Regions from separate parts of the Homo sapiens genome. Here region 2 is linked to region 1. Evidence: promoter capture Hi-C in 16 types of primary human blood cells and fetal thymus (Javierre and others, 2016). All regions are on one chromosome and are shown on one strand. Each heading gives the region's core, a stretch centred on a gene start or on the middle of the fragment in contact. The rest is flanking DNA. Distances are from core to core; before and after follow the strand shown.

Region 1 (3,939 bases), core at 585-3,084:
TGGTGCAGGCAAGAATAGGTGGGTGTGTGCATATATTTAGTATTGTGCTGGCGCAGATGGAGCCCACTGTGTACATCTCTTCCCAACACTGCATTCAGTGACATGGTGTTGGTAGCTTGAAATTGACCATGGCAATCAACAAACACTACAAATAAAGGCTTGGTTTTGTTTGTTTGCTTGTTTGTTTTTACTTTTTTTAAAAGAGCCGATTATTAAACATTTACCTGTGCATGGCTGAATATATTCCATAATTTATCTTTTCTTTTAGTATAAACACATTTTCCCCATTCTTTACCATAACAAAAAAACTTCAATGAATATGCTATGTGGAATTTTGTGCACATATGTGTGAGTTCCTTTAGCATATAGACCTAGAAGTGAAGTTTCTATCTTATGAACTGTGCACATTTCAACTTCATTAGATAGCATCAAATTGATGTCCTACTAGATTTCCTATTTTCTTACCTTCTTGTTGACACTTGATATTGTCAGTCTTCTTAATTTATGCCAATCTTAGCTTGAGGTGGTATTTTACTGCTATTTGAACCTATAATTTTTCTGATTACTTACGAGGCTAAAAATCTTTTTACATATTTATTGGCCATCTGGGTCTTTTGTGAATTTGCTACTCATATTTTTTGTTCATTTTTTCCTTAGATAATCTCCTGTTCTTTTTATTGATTTGTAGAAATTCTTTACATATCCTGAATACTTATTCTTATTCAATTATATGCAGTATACATATCATCTCTCACCTGTGGCTTGTCTTTTAATCATGTTATGTTTTTGTCATAAAGAAGTTTAAATTTTGATACAGTCAAATGTATTATTCTTTTCCTCTGTAATTTCTATGTTTTTTTCATGTTTAAGCAATCTTTCTTGACCTAAAGGTTAAAAATATGTTCCTATATTTTCTTTTTTGAAGTTTATATTTTCATATTTAAATTTTTAATCTATCTAGAATTTATTTTTGTCAATGGTATCAGGTGTACATTTAATGTATTTCCTCATATGGAAATGCAATTATTCCCACATTATTATGAAAGAGACCCAAGTTTCCCTCTTGCCTTTTTGGTTCCTCTTATACATAAAAGCCCTGCATATGCTTGCATCTATTTGGATATTACCTATTCCAGTCTATAGATTCATTTTATCTTTATTTTTGGAACTATTACACTCTAATTACTGTAACTTTACCAAAGCTCCTGATATTCTTTTGAGGCAATTCTTTTCTCTTTATTCAGCCTTTTCAGAATTTTCTTATCTATTCTTCAATGTTTACTCTTTCATGCGAATTGAACCATTTGTCAGCTTGGCAAGTTCCACTGAAAACCCTGTTAGATTTTTTACTAGAATGACAATGAATTTATAGATTAATATTAAAACAATCTATTAATATTTCATACATATGTACATATAGAGAGAGAGTCAGGTATTTTTATGTCCTTCAATAATTGCTTTATAACATTTCCATAAAATTTGAATTTATATTTTATTAGAATTAAATAATAATAATTTTATAAATTATTTTTATTTTTATTGTTAAGGGGATCGTCTATCCTGTTTTATGATATGAATGGCTATGGCTGCCCTATAGGAATGTTATTAGTTCTTATATGCTCATTTCCGTATTAATTTTTCAAACTTTTCCCCAGTCTTTGGAGCTTAAGCATTTAAGGTAAACTTAGTGTTTGTCCTCGAAAGAGTCAATGATGTTATCTTTGACAACCTTTATTGGCACTACGGTACATATGGAAGGGTCAAAGTTTCTAATACGACCGTCAGGGTAAAGTCTAAACGGTATTTATGACAAGGTGTGTGCTAAAATCAGCTCACTTGCAGCAATGGCTTGGATTAGATCCACTTGCATTCTCTTTTTTACCTTGCTTTTTGCCCACATAGCAGCTGTACCGGTAAGTCGAGTCCTGCTTTTTGGATATTTAGAAATATTAATTCTAGTATACATTATCCATTTTCTGTATATTTATTTTTTTCAGATTAAGTATCTTCCTGAAGAAAATGGTAAGAATTAGTTCAAATGCACAGAGAGTGTTTTTGAACTTTTTTCCTTCGGCAAGACTAATAATAATTTTTTTTCTCACTTTTAACAGTACATGATGCAGATTTTGGTGAACAGAAGGATATTTCAGAAATCAATTTAGGTGAGTTCAATTTTTGTGTTATTAAAGTCTTGAAATTACTTGAAACCCAGTGGTGGGATTACTGAACACTTTCCTTCCTAATACTGTATTGTGATTCTCTGGGGGAGAAATATTTTTTGGTGCTTTGTGAGAAATTGCATTTTCTGAAAGATAAAAATGCGGAAAGAGAAGATAGTTAGACCAGACTTTCTAGGAGAGCTAGGAAGTCCTCAATGGATCTAGAAATATGTAACAAGTTTCTCTTTATAAAAATTTTATTTTTCCAATTTGTATTTGGAGGAAAAGGAAAGCAAATAGATAATTATTCCGATTGTTAAAGAAAAATATAAGAATAAGCCTCTGGTTATATTTAGTGGGGAAACAAAACCCAACCCCTCCACTGGCCCATCATATTCACTAACAACTCCTCGGTTGAGACTTAGGGGTGAGTGTAAAGCAATCTCCACTTAGACATCTCATTTACAAATATATTTCTTGAAGAAATTCATCAGTCTCATCCATTACTGAGAGGAGAGAGAAGCTGAGTCATCATCTCTGTTTTCTCTCTGTTGTCCTGCTTCTGAAATGAGAGAGAAGCCTCTGCATTCCCAGTGTCTTAGGTCAGGATTTGTGGAAGCAGAGCTATTCATGATAATAAGTACCTTCAGTTTACAAAAGCTTTTATATGCAATTGCATATTTATTTGTCCAGTCTTGTCGTGGAGTAAGTGCTGTTTTCATTTTTTTGGGAAGCGACAGGTGGCTTCTCATGGGTAGAGTGACTTGCTCAAGATCATAGGTAGCAGTGATGGGGCTTACTTCCAGATCTTGTAGCCCATACCTTAATAGCTCAGTGCTATCTGAAGGCTACAAAACTAACATACCAATAACTAAGGGTCAATTTTTCTGGCTTTGTCTCACTCACAGAGAAGCCAGTTAGTTGATATTTAATTGGAATAGCTGGAGAATGGCTGCATAGGCAGAGCAGAAATAGTTTAGGAAGGTAAATGGGTGAATGCATAAATGGGTCCCAAGACTTCAGAGCCAGGCACTAAAATATCTCTCTTTAGAGTTAGCCATTGTGTAAACAGTTCAGAGAATCTGCTGTATTTTACAACAGAAATGGGATTAGAATTAGAGTTTTTCTAATCTCATCATTATTTATCTAATAAAAATTAATTATTTACCTCTTTGCCATTTTGTACTCTTTAGGCCCACCACCACCTCTGATCCTTGACCCCAGTGGAGAAATCTCATTACCATGTAAATCTTCTTTTTAGGCCATTTCAACCAAACCACCAGGATTGATTGGGTTAGCCATATGGCCAGATTCTAACACCATAAATTGGGAAAATCATATAGAGAAAATTGCCACCTTTTTACCATCTTCTTTTTGCCTCACAAGGCTGAGTAAACGTTTCTTATCCTCCATCCCAAGACCTGCTCCTCTCAGTCCTTTTCATTTCAGTAAATGTGACTCACTCCTTCTAGATTTTCGGCTCAGAATGTTAGAGTTGCCCCTAACTCTTGCTTTTCTCTCACACCTGACACACAATCTGTCAGCAAATGTTATTCGATCTACTCGATCTACTTTTCTTTTTTCTCTTTTCTTTTCTTTTCTCCTGAGATGGAGTGTTGCTATGTCACCCAGGCTCGAGTGCAGTGGTGCCATCTCGGCTCACTGCAACCTCCGCCTCCTGGGTTCAAGCGAGTCTCCTGCCTCAGCCTCCCGAGTAGCTGGGATTATAGGTGCCCACCACCATGCCAGGCTAGTTTTTCTATTTTTAGTAGAGATGGGG
Region 2 (3,939 bases), core at 854-3,353, 88 kb before region 1:
TTTAATCGTGTTATTCTGTTTTACTACTACATATAGAATTGAAAACATTAAATAAAATTAACTGGAATATGAAGAAGCTAAATGTAATTCTGAATGTTTTATTATCCTTCACAGCCTTTGTGTGAGTAACTAATGTATTCTAACTGGAATCCCTGCTATATGCTGTAATACCTGTGGAACCTTTCTTTAGCAAGTAGAATGCCTTAAAGAATTAAAGAAAGTGTCAAAAAATTACCAATTTAATCCACTGCCTTTGCCTCATCTCTAATATTCTTAACCCTTCTCTACTCCTTTTAGTCATCATTTGAAATTGTGTAGTACCACCAATCCTGTGCTGAAACAATGGCTTTTGCTTGTTCTAATTTTTCTTACCGTGACCAAAAGTCAAAGAGAAGAGCTGCCAAATTCTACCTAGAATATCATGTTGCTATAATTAAACTCCACTGCCCATAGTAGATAATAAAAGGCAAGAAATTGTTTTTTACTCTATGTTTAGGGAGTCTTGTATCATTGCAACAGGTTTTCACTGGGATTTTGCCTGTTTTAATCTACTTGTCTGTCAAAGTAATGTAAAAACAGTTTTTAACTTCGACACTGAAAAGGAATCATCTTTAAAATTAAAATTTAGGCTGATATGAATATTGTATACTGTATTCTTTCTTTACATCTAAAGGGAAAAAATTCTTAGTCCAAGCTTCAATCACGATTACAGTATAGCCTACATTTTAAAATATGAGTCCTTTGGGAAAATACATTAAAATTCTCTCTCTCTCTCTCTCTCTCTCTCTCTCTCTCTCTCACACACACACACACACACACACACACACACATAATTTTAGACAGTTTTGAAACAAGACTTTTAAAAAACCTATTTTAATCCTAATTGTATTTCTCTATTCCTGAAGAGTTCTGTAACATGATGTGTTGATTGGTTGTGTTAATGTTGGTCCCTGGAATAAGATTCTCATCATCTCCTTCAATCAAGCAGTCCCACTGATCAAAATCTTTATGAAGTCCTATAAAATATAAAGTGTTAATCAACATATTAAACTTTTGAGAGCATTAAACAGTTTGGTGCCCCTAGGTGGCAATAAAGATTTACAAATTACACAAGTTCCGTTAGGATGGTAGAGACGATGTGCTCTGTATCAGCTGCCTCATGGCTGCTTTAGCAGCTGAATGCAAACGGGATAGGAGTGAGGCAACCTGCTGTCAGTATCCTCAACATGGAAGTCCACTCTAGGCTTCATACAAAGAATATTACCTTTAACAGTTGGATTTGCTTTCTATGATATAGAGGATGTAAAGCAGCAAAATTGACTTTCTCAAATTTCTGTTTTCAAATTGATATACTGCTTTGTTCCATTGTAAACCAACTGGAAATAGTTTAAATAGTACTAAAGCTGTATTAAGATAGACAGCTTTGTCCTGAGATTCATCTGGTTTAGGTCATGAAAAAAATAGTTTCTTACCTAAATGCTTTTGTAAGAATGCTAATGAAGCTTTGTTGCTAAGATCAATAGCTACATTTGAATCTATGTCTCCCTTTAATTTGAGCATGTGTCCAATTATTTTGCCAGTTGCAAAAGTGAAGTCAGCAAAATTCTGGTGGACTGAACCCCTAAAAGAGAACAAGACATTTAAAAGTCACATTGTTTGATAAAATTATTATTTTTTTAGTTAGAGTGTAAGAAAGGTACTGGTCTTGTTGGTCTGTTTACTGAAAACCAAAGAAGAAATAAAACTTGTAATTTGATCTACTTAGATGTGTTTCAAGGGTCACAGGCTGTTTGTTTAGGGATCCCAGAGTATATTCTTCTTCCCTCTAGAAATACAACTCAAAGAATCTTGTTCTTGCTTGGTATCTTGATTTTAGAAGAAATGATTCTTGCTTTTTAGTGAATTGGAATACTTCCAGTTTGAATACTGGAATGTGTTCTGTATTGAAGGGTCCCTGAACTCAGAGCCAGAGCCTGCTACCTGCCCTCACCACTGAACGTGGTATGTATTTGATGCTAGTCACTTTAAATTTAAATCACTTTAGATTTAAGCCTTAGAGGAAACAGATTTCAAACACCACTTTTCCCAGTATTAAACTGTAAGCACTTTATAAATATCATTTGCACTGCTCTGTAAATTCATCAATAGCCTAACGTCAAATAGAATGGCCTTTTTTAAGTCCTCGTTTTCTACCACCACTGGGACATTTGACACTTGATGGCCTTCTTGCACTTTTTTTCTTTACGTTTCCTTAACATTGCACCTTCCCTTCTGACGCTAACCACTCTATGTTCTTCACTGGCTCTTCACCCATTTCCCATTGGCTGAATGTAGGCATTCCTTAGGATTCTACTGGCAGACCAACTCTTTTCTCACTTTGCAATCTCTTCTACTTCAAATGTTTCATCTGTGTTATCATGTAAATTATGTAATCATCCAATGTGTGGCCAGACATCTGTGTACAGATTCCTCAGTTCTCAAGCTAAGAAATTGTGAAGTTAAAAGACATCTTCCCAGTCCTGCCCAAAGCTGCTCTGCCTCTTGACTCTGCTGGTTCTTATAAGCAACCCATCATTCTTTTAGTCATCTAAGCTCAAAACAGGGCCACTTAACTCCCTCTCACTCTTCCCCACATTGTAGTAGGAAACTTGAATGTCAGAAACATAAAGAAGATAAACAGCAGGAATACAAGAGAATTGCGAGCAGAAGCTTGGATGATCTGACTGTAGAGAACTGCCAGAGGAGAAGAAATGGAAGGAGTGGTATAAATGACAGGAGAAGCAGCAAAGAGGTGGGTCATAGTAGCCAAGGGAGCAGGAAGAGGGGTGGTCAGCAATGTTGAACAGATGCAGAGAGCAAGGTTGAGACTCTGAAGAGGCTGCTGGTGTGGCAGGCAGCAGGCCTTTAGTGTCTTTGTTTTGGCATGCCCGTGGGGGCCCAGGAAGCTAGACCACAAGAGTCAAAGAGTGAATAGAAGTAAGCACATGCAATGACTAATATTGGCTATTCTTTGAAGGTTTCTAGCAGAGAAGGGACAAAAGCAAAGGTGAGAGCTTAGTAAGGAAATAGGGTTGAGGGAAGGTTAGGTGTTCTGTATTATTTCCGTTTTAGAATTAGAAAGAGTTGCACATACACATAAGCTAAATGAAGTCCTTGCCTGAAATACCTAAACCCTTCCTTACTATCTAAACTCTCTTGATCTTACAAAATCCAATTTTAGTGTCATCTATGAATCCTTTTCTGTTGGAAGAGACCCCTCTATTCTCTGAGCCCATAGTGTTTATTGCCTATACTCCATATATTTCCTTCCTGCCTCTTCTCTTCTCCTAAATAAACCAGATTTCAGATAGGAAAGGGGTGAGTTCAGGTCCATCTTTGCTTTGTAATATCTCATCGAGAGTTCAAAACCTTATCAGGAGTTCTTTTTCACCTCCAGGATACAAGAATTGCCAACACGTCATGGTACCCCATTATAGCTTTGGGGAATTTATAAACTCATATTCTTTCTCAACAGGTTAGTATATTGCAGGTCTCAGTCGATAATCTGACTTTTTCTTTAAAGAGTTCCTACCCCAGCCTAATGATGGAATACTTCCCCCTAGCTCTACCCCCAAAAATCTGTAGGCATATTCTGGTGTTTAGATTGAAGTAGCATGTAGTATAATGCTAATTTTAATTACCAGTGATATAGTTTGGATCTGTGTCCCCACCAAATCACATGTCAAATTGGAATCCCCAGTGTCAGAGGCAGGGACTGGTGGGAGGTGATTGGATCATGGGAGCAGTTTCTCATGGTTTCACACCATCCCCCTTGGTGCTGTCATTGTGACAGTGAATTCTTGTGAGACCTGGTTATTTAAAAGTGTGTAGTACCTTCACCCATCCCTCTCTTCCTCCGGCTCTGGCCATGTGAAGTGCTCATGCCCCGGTTGCCTTCCA

The links. Contacts are between HindIII fragments. The CHiCAGO score rates a contact against its expected background, and 5 or more counts as called.
Region 2: a contact is called between a fragment that was not itself captured here and the fragment with the promoter of MEP1A in region 1, in 1 of 17 cell types (monocytes). The highest score is 6.4, in monocytes.

Annotation. Positions count from the first base shown.
Region 1 is chr6:46,791,555-46,795,493 of GRCh38, forward strand. MEP1A (meprin A subunit alpha) reads left to right here and starts at 1,835. Exons shown (of 14, transcript NM_005588.3): 1 at 1,835-1,913; 2 at 1,998-2,022; 3 at 2,112-2,162. The coding sequence starts at 1,845. The HindIII fragment of the contact is 4,281 bases long and covers 1-2,817 here.
Region 2 is chr6:46,703,681-46,707,619 of GRCh38, forward strand. It overlaps PLA2G7 (phospholipase A2 group VII), which reads right to left. Exons shown (of 12, transcript NM_005084.4): 11 at 1,473-1,621; 12 at 521-1,016. The coding sequence ends at 880. TDRD6 (tudor domain containing 6) reads left to right here. Exons shown (of 4, transcript NM_001010870.3): 4 at 1-639. Among named protein-coding and RNA genes, the nearest start is that of TDRD6-AS1, 17 kb to the left of the region's middle. The HindIII fragment of the contact is 1,207 bases long and covers 1,501-2,707 here.